Regions from separate parts of the Homo sapiens genome. Here regions 1 and 2 are each linked to region 3. The links are contacts of gene promoters, found by promoter capture Hi-C in human tissues and cell types (Jung and others, 2019). All regions are on one chromosome and are shown on one strand. The core of a region is centred on a gene start or on the middle of the fragment in contact, and the rest is flanking DNA. Distances in the headings are between cores, read along the strand shown. Region 1 overlaps SLC35D2 (solute carrier family 35 member D2). Region 2 holds the start of CTSV (cathepsin V). Region 3 holds the start of ZNF510 (zinc finger protein 510).

The links. Contacts are between HindIII fragments. The study calls those that stand out against the background at their distance.
Region 1: a fragment that was not itself captured here is called in contact with the fragment with the promoter of ZNF510 in region 3 in 1 of the 25 tissues and cell types used here (IMR-90 fibroblasts).
Region 2: the fragment with the promoter of CTSV here is called in contact with the fragment with the promoter of ZNF510 in region 3 in 1 of the 25 tissues and cell types used here (adrenal gland).

Annotation. Positions count from the first base shown.
Region 1 is chr9:96,326,876-96,331,054 of GRCh38, reverse strand. All of the region lies in intron 9 of SLC35D2 (solute carrier family 35 member D2), which reads left to right. All of the region lies in intron 9 of SLC35D2-HSD17B3 (SLC35D2-HSD17B3 readthrough), which reads left to right. Among named protein-coding and RNA genes, the nearest start is that of HSD17B3, 27 kb to the right of the region's middle. The HindIII fragment of the contact is 3,616 bases long and covers 1-3,330 here.
Region 2 is chr9:97,037,452-97,041,738 of GRCh38, reverse strand. It overlaps CTSV (cathepsin V), which reads left to right and starts at 2,597. Exons shown (of 8, transcript NM_001333.4): 1 at 2,597-2,668; 2 at 3,686-3,821; 3 at 4,124-4,246. The coding sequence starts at 3,696. RefSeq lists a silencer at 2,253-2,562. The HindIII fragment of the contact is 6,962 bases long and covers 1-4,287 here.
Region 3 is chr9:96,776,182-96,780,083 of GRCh38, reverse strand. ZNF510 (zinc finger protein 510) reads left to right here and starts at 1,997. Exons shown (of 6, transcript NM_014930.3): 1 at 1,997-2,050; 2 at 3,839-3,902. RefSeq lists a silencer at 2,137-2,236. The HindIII fragment of the contact is 14,118 bases long and covers 1-3,902 here.

The DNA of each region.
Region 1 (4,179 bases), core at 273-2,772, 450 kb after region 3:
GTGGTAGTGTGCCCCTGTAATCCAAGGTACTTGGGAGGCTGAGGCACGATAATCTCTTGAACCTGGGAGGTGGAGGTTGCAGTGAGCCGAGGCTGTGCCATTGCACTCTAGCCTGGGTGACAAAAATAAATAAATAAATAAATAAATAAAATCAGGGTGAAATTCAGCAGAACTCTGTTTTAGGGTGAAGATTTTGGGAACTGCAAGGAACTTCCTTGTGAGCAATTTGCGAGGGAGGCCACCTGGGGAGATGTGTGGCCCTCTCTCTTTGCAGCTATCTATTGAGGAACAGAATGGAAGGCAGTTTTTGTGTGACTCAGTTTCCAGACTTAACTTCTCCCTTTGGCATTGTGAGTTTGGGGTTCTGAGATTTAATTTTCCTTTCACAACACTATCCTGAATGCCATAACCCCCAAAAGATCTAACTTCAAAAAATTATAATCCTGAAAGAGTAGAATCTCAAATGTTGAAATCCTGAAAGCTGAATTCTGGGGAAGGGATTGTGTATTTCTGTTGTATGCAGGATACATGTTGTGTCACATCAGATGGATGCAACTAAATAACAAAATTTCTTTGTTACTGTCTTCATTCGGAAACTTAAGTATGGTTTAAGGCGATGCCTGTGGGTGCCAATTGACAAGCAGGGGGAATTGTGGAGTTAAATTCAGGTATCAATTCGACTGGATTAAGGAATACCTGGGAACCCAGTGAAGCTTTATTTTAGGTGTCTGTGTGTGTGTATATGTGTGGGGGTTTCCACAGGAGATTGGCCTGTGAGTCTGAGTGGACCAGGTGGGGAGGATTTGCCCTCATGGTTGGCAGGCACCAGCCAATTGGCCATGGGCATGGAGAGATCAAATACAGAGGCGAATCCATCCCTCTTTGAAATCTGGGACAGACTTTCTTCTGCTGCCTTGGACATCAGAACTCCTGGCTCACTGGCCTTGGGAATCTAGGGCTTCCACCAGCAGTCTGTGGTCAGGAGGCCTTTGGCCTTGGACCACCAAGTTACACCAAAGGCTTCGCTCGTTCTCAGGCCTTTGGACTTGGCCTAAGCCACGCTACTGGCATCTCAGGGTCTCCAACTTGCAGATGGCCTGTCTTGGGACTTTTTAGCCTCCATAATTGTGGGAGCCAATTCCCCTGATAAATCCCCTCTCATATATCTATACTTGTGTGTTCTATTGGTTCCGTTCCTCTGGGGAACGCTGACTAATATAGATTCCTTTATTGAGGAAGCCAAATATCATTCCTTCTTACTGTATTCCTAACAACACAACAGAAAAGATCTGTGAAAATGTTCTCTCACAAAAGGGCTGTGAAAAATAAAAGTTTAAAAGCTAGTTATTATTGGTGCCGCAAAAGCAGAACATTGCTTAATTGCAATGGCTGAGCAATTATCAAACTTGCAAATGGACAGCGTATGCTTACAAAATCCGTGGGCCACAGCCACTCTCCAAGTACCAGTGGAGGAGTGTTTTGAAGATCATAGATGTGAAAATGCAGGTGAGAAATACAAGAAATCTATGCCAGACACAGTGGCTCATGCCTGTAGCCCCAAAGCTTTGTTTGGGAGGCTGAGTGGGAGGATCACTTGAGGCCAGGAGTTTGAGACCAGCCTGGGCAACATATGAGAACTCATTTCTACAGAAAAAAGTTAGGCAAATGTGGTGGCATGTTCTTGTAGTTCCAGCTACTCAGGAGGGTGAGGCAGGAGGATTGCTTGAGCTCAGGAGTTTGAGGCTGCAGTGAGCTATGATGGCACCACTACACTCCAGCCTGGGCAACAGAGGGAGAGCCTGTCTCTAAAAAAAGTATATATATAAAAAAGTGTGTATTTATATATATAAAAGTATATATGTATATGTGTGTGTGTATATATGTAAATGTCTCCTGCCAAATTATTCAATCTTGTAGAATTTCTGTCCTTTAAAAGACATAAATAATGTCTTTTTTTTTTTTTTTTGAGATGGAGTCTCACTCTGTTTGCCCAGGCTAGAATGCAGTGACGCGATTTCATCTCACTGCAACCTCCGCCTCCTGGGTTCAAGCGATTCTCCTGCCTCAGCCTCCTGAGTAGCTGAGATTATAGGTTCCAGCCACCAAGCCCAGCTAATTGTTGTATTTTTAGTAGAGACGGGGTTTCACCATGTTGTCCAGGCTGGCACTCTGTGAGTTCTTAGGAGTGAGTTCTTCCTAGAGATGGTGAGGATGGGGTTCCTTGGAATTCTTTGAAATCTGGAATTATAAGAGAATGATGTGCTTGGGTACCATTGTGGATGGTGGAAAGAATGCAAAAGTGGCCTGTGAATATTTGAACGTTTGTTGAGTTTCTATATTTGTTGGGGCAGGGAACGGTAATCAGTGACAAGGTATAAACTAGGTCATTTGAGTTCTGTTTGTGACTGCCACAATGTTGGGTAAGGCAGTTACTTTTTGTGCTGTTTTTAGAACAGGAAGAAGAAGGCTTTGAGCAGAGGCTCTGGTCCAGGAGTTTCTACTTGGGCACCTCCACCCTGGGGGCCCTAGAAGCAGAACACTCAGCTGGCCTCTGTTGTCTGAATAAATGTGCATCAGATGTATGTGCTGTTATATTTCAAATGTACACAGATAATATCATGACTTCAAAATACAGAGCACGCTGGGCGTGGTGGCTCACACCTGTAATCCCAGCACTTTGGGAGGCTGAGGTGGGAAGACCACCTGAGCCCAGAAGATGGAGGCTGGGCTCATGTGAGCCCAGTGAGTTGTGATTGTGCCACTGTACTCCAGCCTGAGCAACAGAGTGAGACCCTATCTAAAAAATATAGAATGGTAAAAAAGGTTACTAAGAATTCAGCAATACTTTTAAATATCTTTGTATTTTATTAATCTACAGATAGTAAAATCAAAGCTAGTCATGTGGAGGTTGATATTTTCAGTAATAAAAGTGGTGAGGTTTCCCTTGCACTGAGTACTGAGTTAACGAAGGTTCTTTTAGTTCAAAGTCTTGGTTTTGGCCAAAGAACTATGCAAGTTTTTTTTGCATATAGAAATAGATTCTTTTAAAAAATGTAATATACTGCTACTTTGAGCCTGGTGGTTCTATATTTGCCCTCTCTGGGGACATCTAGTGGGTATATTAAGAAGTGCAAGCTGGGAGTGGTGACTAATTCCTATAGTCCCAGCACTTTGGGAGGCCAGAGAGGGAGGATTGCTTGAGCCCCAGAGTTCCAGATCAGCCTGGGCAAGATAGCAAGACTCTGTATCTAGAAAAAATTTAAAAATTAGCCAAGTTTAGTGATGTGTACCTGTAGTCCCAGCTTCTTGAGAGGCTGAGGTGGGAGGATTGCTTGAGCCTGGGAGGTGGAGGCTGCAGTGAACCATGATCACACCACTGCGCTCCAGCCTGGGCGAAAGAGTGAGACCCCATCTTTAAAAAAAAAAAAAAGAAAAAGAAAAAGAAAAAAGAAGTGCAGCCCTTCTATCTAGCCGCCATCTGTTGCTAAGGAGGATGGCTGCTCACTGAGGCTCACTCCAGAATGTTAGGGAGGGATTCTCCTCCCTTGGCTCAGCCCAGCTGGTGAGTGATGTCCTAGTCACCCACACTCATGATGGATGGGTGCTGGGATCTTAGATCCATGATGTCTTCTGATTCTGAATGCAGGCTGAGGTGGTTTCACTAAGATGGAGCTGGGTGTGACGACACACATCTGTAGTCCCAGCTACTTGGAAGACAGGCGGGAGGATCACTTGAACCCAGGCATTCATGTCCCGCCTGGGTAATATAGCCAGATCTTGTCAAGAGATGAGGTTCCCCCCAACCCTTTTTTAAGAAAAGAAAAATGGAGGATGGAGAAAATGTTGCATGATTGGAACCCTGGAGTTGGAATTTTAAAGCAAAAGTGGAAATAAAGAACATCCATGCTGTCCTTGGTTTAAGGCTGTGCTGGTGCATAGGCGGCCTGCAGGAAGCTCCTCTCTGCCCCTGCGTTGGGCTGGGCCCTGTGCTGTGCTCCCGCTGCTGTGCAGCTCTCTCCTCTGATCTGGGTCTGAGTGGCTCCGGGGCAGGTGCTGTGGATGGGATGGTCCCCTCTGACAGCCAGGGCCTGGCAGAGCAGGCACTCAGTGGCATCAGTTTGAGTTTTTTAATTTTTTCATTGTATGGATAAATAGGATTATTTATAGCTCCTGGGAATC
Region 2 (4,287 bases), core at 1,348-3,847, 260 kb before region 3:
CATTTATTTCCACATGTGAATGATGATTGTGTTCAACACAATGATTAATTTTTAAAAAAGAAAAAAAACAGCTATTTGCAGTACAAGATGCTTTTTTTTTTTTTTTGAGACGGCAAATTTGCAGTACAAGTACAAGATGCTTTTTTTTTTTTTTTTTTTTTTTTGGGACGGCATCTCGCTCTGTCACCCAGGTTGGAGTGCAGTGGCGCATGCTCTGCTCCGCTCACTACAACCTCAGTCTCCCAAGTAGTTGGGACTACAGGCATGCATCACCATGCCTGGCTAATTTTTGTTTGTTTGTTTTGTATTTTTGGTAGAGGTGTGATTTCGCCATGTTGCCCAGGCTGGTCTCAAACTCCCAGGCTCAGGAGATCCACCTACCTTGGCCTGCAATACAATATACTTTTGTATTTTTTATATAACCACCTGACAGCTTTGGCCCCTAGTTGTATTTGAGAGGGAAAAGCTGCTATTTATTTAAAGGAAGGACATATAATTATTAATAAATTGATTTTTAAAAAGATGTATTTGCCTGATGGTGCTTCTGAAAAGTTGTCAGTTTAATTGTTTTTAATTTGTTAAAAGAAAATCCATAGCCAAATTAAATTTAAGAGAATTTAATTGAGCAAAAAACAATTCGTGAATCTGGCAGCCTCCAGTGCCAGAGTAGGCTCAGAGAGACTCCAGTGCAGCCACATGGGGGAAGATTTATAGACAGAAAAGGGCAAGTGAGGCACAGAAACTGCAGGATTGGATACAGCTCCATGTTTGCCTTATTTGAACATGGTTTGAACAACTGAACCTCTTTGATTTACAGAAATTCGGGGATAGGCACAAGAGCAGGCTACAGTCTGTTTACACCTCCATTTAGATTACAATTCGCTATGTACAGAGAAACCTTTAGGCCAAACTTAAATCACATGGGGAGGCAGCTTTAGGCTAAACTTGATTTCACAAATTTTCAAATTAACAAGTAAAAACTGTGGATATTATTCAATTTAATCTTTAAGAGTTTATTAATCAATATGCATTATAACTTCATTTTTGTAAAAACAAAAAAAGATATGCCTAGAAAAGGGTTATGGAGAGGGCACAAGGGACGTTTATTTTCTAAAACATATTTTTTATAATGGATTTTTTTATATAACTTTAAAAAGAATTAGAAACGTTTCTGAATTATTAATGATTTCCTTAAATCTTTAGCTACATATATTTCTCCATAAAGAGCAGTTCCTCAAACTGCATCACCTCAACCCTGATATTATATATTTTTATTTTTATTTTTATTTTTTGAGACAGAGTTTCGCTCTGTCACCAGTCTGGAGTGCAGTGGCACGATCTCAGCTCACTGCAACCTCCGCCTCTCGGGTTCAAGCAATTCTCCTGCCTCAGCCTCCTGAGTAGCTGGGACTACAGGCGCCCGCCACCACGCCCAGCTAATTTTTGCATTTTTAGTAGAGACAGGGTTTCACCATGTTGGCCAGGATGGTCTCGATATCATGACCTCGTGATCCGCCCGCCTCGGCCTCCCAAAGTGCTGGGATTACAGGTGTAAGCCACCGCGCCCGGCCGGTATTAAACATTTTTAAAGTAAATTTATTAAATCTCAAAAGAAGCACACTTTGAATACTGAGGAAGAGACGTTGTAACCCATAAGCAGAGAGTAGGTAAGTAAAAGCAATTTCCACCACTCTCAGACTGGGCGTAGTGGCTCACGCCTGTAATCCCACCACTTTTGGGAGGCTGAGAGGGGAGGATCGCTTGAGGCCAGGAATTCAAGAGCAGCCTAAGGAAACTTAGCCAAACTCCATTTCTACAAAAGAAAAATTTTTAAAGCAATTTATTTCACCATTCTCAACGCTTTTCTCTTTTTTATTAACCAAATATTTCTGTAACTCTTTTTTTTTTTTTTTTTTTTTTTTTTGGTATTGAAAGACATGGGAGAAGGAAGAATTCCTGAATGCAACAGACTGGGAAGGACGCACCACAAAACGCTCCGCGGTCTCTGGACACCCTATCAGCTAGTCCCGTCCCTCCTGGTGTCCGGTCTCGACCATCCATCCCGTGTTTTGGGAGTGCCTTTCCTTACCAGATTCTTCTAAAGCCCTGATGCACCCACCCTTAAGTGGAAGGTAATGCTTCTGCTGGGGGCTGTGCGTTCTTCCACTCCGTCCCACCTTTGCCGTGGACTAAACAGGAGCCACTGAACGAGAGTACCCTGGCTCCCGGCCCTGCAGATTTTCACCAAAAACTCTAGGACTAAGTTAAAGTAGGGACTGAAATACCACACAGAGCTCGCTGTAAACCACCCGCTCAGCGCAGTAAGTCGGGATAGTCAGTAGATCTGAGCCCTTGAGGGAGGCGCCTCCCCCTCCTCCGCGCAGCCCCCGGGCGCCCGGCCCAGCTTCCCGCAGCCAGGGTGTATTGAGGTAGGCGCGCCCAGACCTGAGACGGGTTGGGACTGGGCTGCGTCACGCGCGGGCTCTAAGCGCCCGGGGCCCCGCCCAGTGGCCGGCACAGCCAATCGCAGCGCGGGAAGGCGGTGGGGGCGGGGAAGGCCGCCTGGAAACTTAAATCCCGAGGCGGGCGAACCTGCACCAGACCGCGGACGTCTGTAATCTCAGAGGCTTGTTTGCTGAGGGTGCCTGCGCAGCTGCGACGGCTGCTGGTGAGCGCCCCCGACCAGACCGAGGGACAGGGCGAAGGGGGACTGGAGGAGGGAACCCCCCTTTAGGGACACTGAGAGGAGGCGGGCGCTTCTGGGAGTGAGAGCTTCTGCCCGGAGCTCTGCCAGCCTCGAGGTGGGGAACGGGGGAGGGCGGTTGGAGACCCCAGGGAGGCGCCGGCACCACTGGGAGGGCCCGGGCGGGGCAGGTCAGTCATCCTGTGGGCTGAAGCCGGACCGGACCGGGCGGCTTCATGCCCCCAGCCTGGCCGCGGAGCCCCCGCTCCCTGCACCGCCGCAAACATTCTCGGGGCGCGGCGGCGCGTGCAGAGGGCGAGAGCAGGCGGTGCGGCCCCGGTCCTGGCCCGCCCGGAGCTCCGGGAGCTGCCTGCCTCGGTCCGGGCCCTGGCCCTGGGGCCCCTGGCTTCCAGCGGCGCGGCCTTGTGACCCTGCCCCGGTTTAGGGGAGCGAGTAGCACAGACCCAAGTGTGGGACGGCGGGAATAGTGGGTGCTCTCCTTCCCAGTGTCTCCTGGAAAGGGATTCCCGAAAGGTTTTATTCCAAAAGGAGAGGTTGGAAGACATAGCTCATCTCCTGCTGTGTATCAGCCAAGAAGGTGTGAGGTGGTGTTCCTTGGGGATCCGCTTGCATCTACTTGGGATGGTACGTCTTCATTAGTGAGGTTTTGCCTGGATGACCTCAGTACAATTGGTGCAAAACCTGGACCAACTCTTTCCTAGTTTTCTAGTTGTTGCCTTAAGCTTCTCACCCGTCAGGTATCTTTCACACCCTTCTCATACCCTAAATTATCGCATATGCTGTTTCAACGCCTCCAACTCTGCAGGCTGCTTTTAATTTTGGTGGGCCCATCAAATACCTCCACTTGGCCTGTTTCAGCCTCTTCCACAGTCCTTGGGGAAATGCTAGGGAGAATAATTGAAATATTTCTATTCCACGGGGGCTGTAAGATGGCTTTTTAGGATTGGTCTAATCAGATACTCATTTCTTTTCTCTTTCTAGGTTTTGAAACATGAATCTTTCGCTCGTCCTGGCTGCCTTTTGCTTGGGAATAGCCTCCGCTGTTCCAAAATTTGACCAAAATTTGGATACAAAGTGGTACCAGTGGAAGGCAACACACAGAAGATTATATGGCGCGGTTGGTAACATCTGAAACTGTCCAGAGGGACTCTGGAGAGAATGGTCCTCGCTGTTGGGAGTTGATAGCCAGAGAGTAGCTTCTAGACACCAGACCTTACCAGGCAATAACCTAACAGCACCCATTATAGGTGCAATATGGGCATATATCTCCATTGTGTCTTGGCTTGGAGAACAGCTCCCAGAGAAGTATCAACCCATCCCTGGCCATGGTTTCTCTTCCATTTCTGCCCGCAAATCGGCTTGGTGAACATGGGTTGGGTAAGTAGACATAAAGTCCACCAGCTATATGTTTGCCTCTAGAATGAAGAAGGATGGAGGAGAGCAGTGTGGGAAAAGAATATGAAAATGATTGAACTGCACAATGGGGAATACAGCCAAGGGAAACATGGCTTCACAATGGCCATGAATGCTTTTGGTGACATGGTGAGTGTGGCAAGGATTGCTGAACTCTGTGCTGCTTCTCA
Region 3 (3,902 bases), core at 748-3,247:
AGCAGCTCTTTGGGCACCAGGCAAGGTCTCAGCCTTCAGACAGATGTGAAGGGCGAGACTTTCCTTGGAAAGGAATTAAAGGGTTTATCTTTTTAAAACACCTGTTTCTCTTAAAAACTTAAGAAATGTATAATTTAAAAATTTAAAACTTTGATATTATTAATTGCTTATTGTTGAATGAATCCTTGTGAAAATTATTGATTGTAATGTTAGTGCCATGGATATGTCCTTTGTCCCAGCACCTATCTCATTGTCCTAACAAGGTTACTGAAGGTTCTCTTTCCACTGCTTTAAAAGCCAGCTGATACATACTACATTCTTTCTTTTTCATATAGTTGAACTTTTACTGCACCAGGATAAATTTTTAAATATTTAGTGATAGTATACATAGTAAATATAGAGATATTGCTATGCATTTTCAATTCTTTTCTGATCATTACCATAAGTTTTTATTAGAATGAAAATTGGAATAGTTCCTTTAGGAAAACAGGCAAAATATATAAATGTCAAAAAAAGAAAATATATACTTAGAAAACATAGATGATTAGAATTTTTAAAAACAAATGTTAGTCTTTTCCTCCAGTATCTATTAAAGTGTTTTTCAGTGTCAACAGTAAAATTTTATACCTTGATTCATATATACTGCACTAGTTTACTGTTGCCATTAATCTTTTTTCTTGCTAATCAAAACTTATCATTGCCATATAAAATAACCTGTTAGAAAGTATCAACCGTGTGTGTGTGAGTGTATGTGTGTTACTAAAAAGAGTGTCATAAAATACTGTGCTGAGAGGTTCCTAATTTGGTTCCTGATTTCAGAAGCATACCACATAAGATTTAAGCAAGCTCATCTCTAGGAGATGCATAATTTGTGGATAACGGTTTTCTTAGTTGGGATTGTGTGTACTTCAGGTATTATGTAATGCTGAACAGCTTACTTGCTTTTTCTTTTTTTCCCCCCAGAGATAAACTGAGGATCACAAATATTATTCTTTTATGTTAATAATGGTTTCCATTTTCTAGTATTTGTTACATTTTACGGCTTTATTCACAAAGCTGTTTATGTATTTTTGTGGCAGCTCTAAGTTAAAAGGCACACTTGTAACATTACAGTCCCAATTTTCCCTTTATCAACTTTATATTATAAAATTTTCCAACACATAGTCAATAAGCATGTCCATATTCTAGAAGTAGATATTCTTAACATTTTGCCATACTTCCCATTTCTAATTATTTTTTAAAAAGAACTTACAAACGGGCCGGGAGTGGTAGCTCACGCCTGTATACCCAGCACTTTGGGAGGCCAAGGCAGGCGGATCACTTGAGGTGAGGAGTTCGAGACCAGCCTGGCCAACATGGTGAAACCCCGTCTCTACTAAAAATACAAAAATTAGCTGGGCGTAGTGGCGGGCGCCTGTAGTCCCAGCTACTTGGGAGGCTGAGGCAGGAGAATCGCTTGAACCCGGGAGGCGGAGGTTGCAGTTAGCCGAGATCGCGCCACTGCACTCCAGCCTGGGCGACAGAGTAAGACTCCGTCTCAAAAAAAAAAAAAAAAACCAAAAAACCCAAAAACTTACAAACATAATACAATCCTAAATACTTACATAGACATCTCTTTATGAATAAGCAAGATTACCTACATAATCCCAATGCTGCCACAATTAATTAATAATTCTAATTTCCAGTCCGTATACAAATTTTCCCAATTGTTTTCAAACGTCTTCCGCGGCTCTTGCTTTCTGTAACCACACGCTGCATTTGCTGTTATGTCATCAAGTCTAACCCACAACCTCTGGGGCTCTGACAGAACCCGGGCTCCAGTTATCAGGACGGTCCATGTTATTACGCCATAAATCTTGGGGGAAAAACAAACAAAAAAACACTGACAGCTGGCGCCGTACTGCATGTGAAACGTAGTCTTGCATGTTATGGGTTACCGCGCAGCATGCTGGGAACGGATATGCGCGTTTTCGTCTGCGCATGTGCAGTCAACCCCACTTTCCGGCTTCTCCCTGTTAGTGTTTGCTGGTGCAGAGGGTTCGCAGCTCAGGTGAGAGCGCCGGGCCTCCACGCGGATTGCGGACCTGCAGGGAGGGATGTGCTAGTGTCCAGGGGGCGGGAACGCGACGTCCCGGGAACTCCCCCAAAGCAGGCCGTCGCTCCCTGTGCCTCGGCCGGCCCGGGACCTCAGCCTGAGAAGGGCCGGTGGGGGCGGGCTCCGGGGGCGTTAGGTGGGGCTGAGTCCTAGTTGGAAGATGCTCGGTGCGGGCCGAGGTATGGGCGCCAGAATGCAGCCAGGCGTCGGAAAACGCGGTGCTGGCTTCAGGAGGGGAATGCGCGTTTATTGTATTGACCATGAACCTGCCACAAAGCGCGTACAGCCCGTGGGTCTGCGGTGAGAGGCCGAGCCTAGGAGCTAGAAGGACCTCGTGAATTTTGGCTCTGTCACTTGAGCGTTTGAAAATGAGGATATTAGTAAAAACTGCTTTGTGTCGTTCAGAGGTAAGCCATCCCCTGTAAAGCATTTAGCTAAGCGCTAGTTACTAAGCAGCATGTAAATGTTGATTCCCGTTATATTTGGAAGACACTTTGTTCTTTTCATGTAGTATTTCGTTTAATTCTCACAACCACCCTATTTATATCATTAAAAATGAAGAAGGAGGAGTGAAAAGATAGAGCCAAGCTCACAAAGGATGAGAGAGCTAGGATGTCAATACATAAACACTTTACTCCCCGAATCAGGCTGTTTGTAATGGCCTACCTACCTAACCCAGCATTGCAGCCTTCACAGCACTGAGTGATTGTCCCCAAAACCCCAGGACAATGATTGTGAAGTCAGTGTGGACAGAATCTTACTATGTGGCAAGTGTATTTGTTGTGGGGTTTCTGGGATGTCTCCAGAGCCTCTGGGTTAGACTGAGGCCCCTGCCACCTCCTGTGCTGTCCCTCCTGTCTCTGTCTTTAGAAGTCAGTCTGATATTCTAGGGCAGTGAAGATGAGTCACATACGTAATTTTAAATGTTAAACTAGTAGCTACATGAAAATCTAAAACATGAAATTAATTTTAAGAACATACTGTGGTTTTCTCAGTGTATCCAAAATGTTATTTCAACATGTGGTCCTAGCCACATTTCCAGTGCTCAGTAGTTGATGTGATTGGAGGCTGTAGTCATGGATAGCAGGGTTCTAATTAATGCCAAGAGAATCAGGTTTAAGGCCTTAGGTCACTTCTTCACCAGGAGGATTTTGCTCCCTAGGGAACTTTGGAAATGTTGGAGACTTTTTTGGTGGGGGGAGAGGGGACTGAGTTTCTCTCTGTCGCCCAGGCTGGAGGGCAGTGGTGTGATCTTGGCTCACTGCAACCTCCACCTCCCAGGTTCAACTGATTCTCCTGCCCCAGCCTCCCAGCTTGTAATCTCAGCTGGAATTACAAGCATGCATGGCCATGCCCAGCTAATTTTTTGTATTTTTAGTAGAGGTGGGGTTTCACCATATTGGCCAGGCTTATCTTGAACTCCTGACCTCAGGTGATCCACCTGCCTTGGCCTCCCACAGTCCTGGGATTACAGGCGTGAGCCACCACGCCCGGCCTGGAGACGTTTCTGATTGTCACAACAGGGAGAAGGGGTGTCCTAGTGTCTAGTGCATGTTTAGAAATGCTCTTAAACATCCTGCAATGCACAGGACCACTCCTTATGTCAGAGGATTATCCAGCCCAAAATGGAAGTTGTGCTGACGTGAAGAACACTGTTTTCCATGAAAGTTTCAACTAAAATAAATTTGTTACCCAGGCATCAGCCCCAGCTTCTCTGGAGCAAAGCAGCTCTTTATGTTGCAGGAAGGAGGGAGCCCCAGGAACAGGAGTCCCACCGAAGAACTGCTCTCTGACAGAACAGAGACCT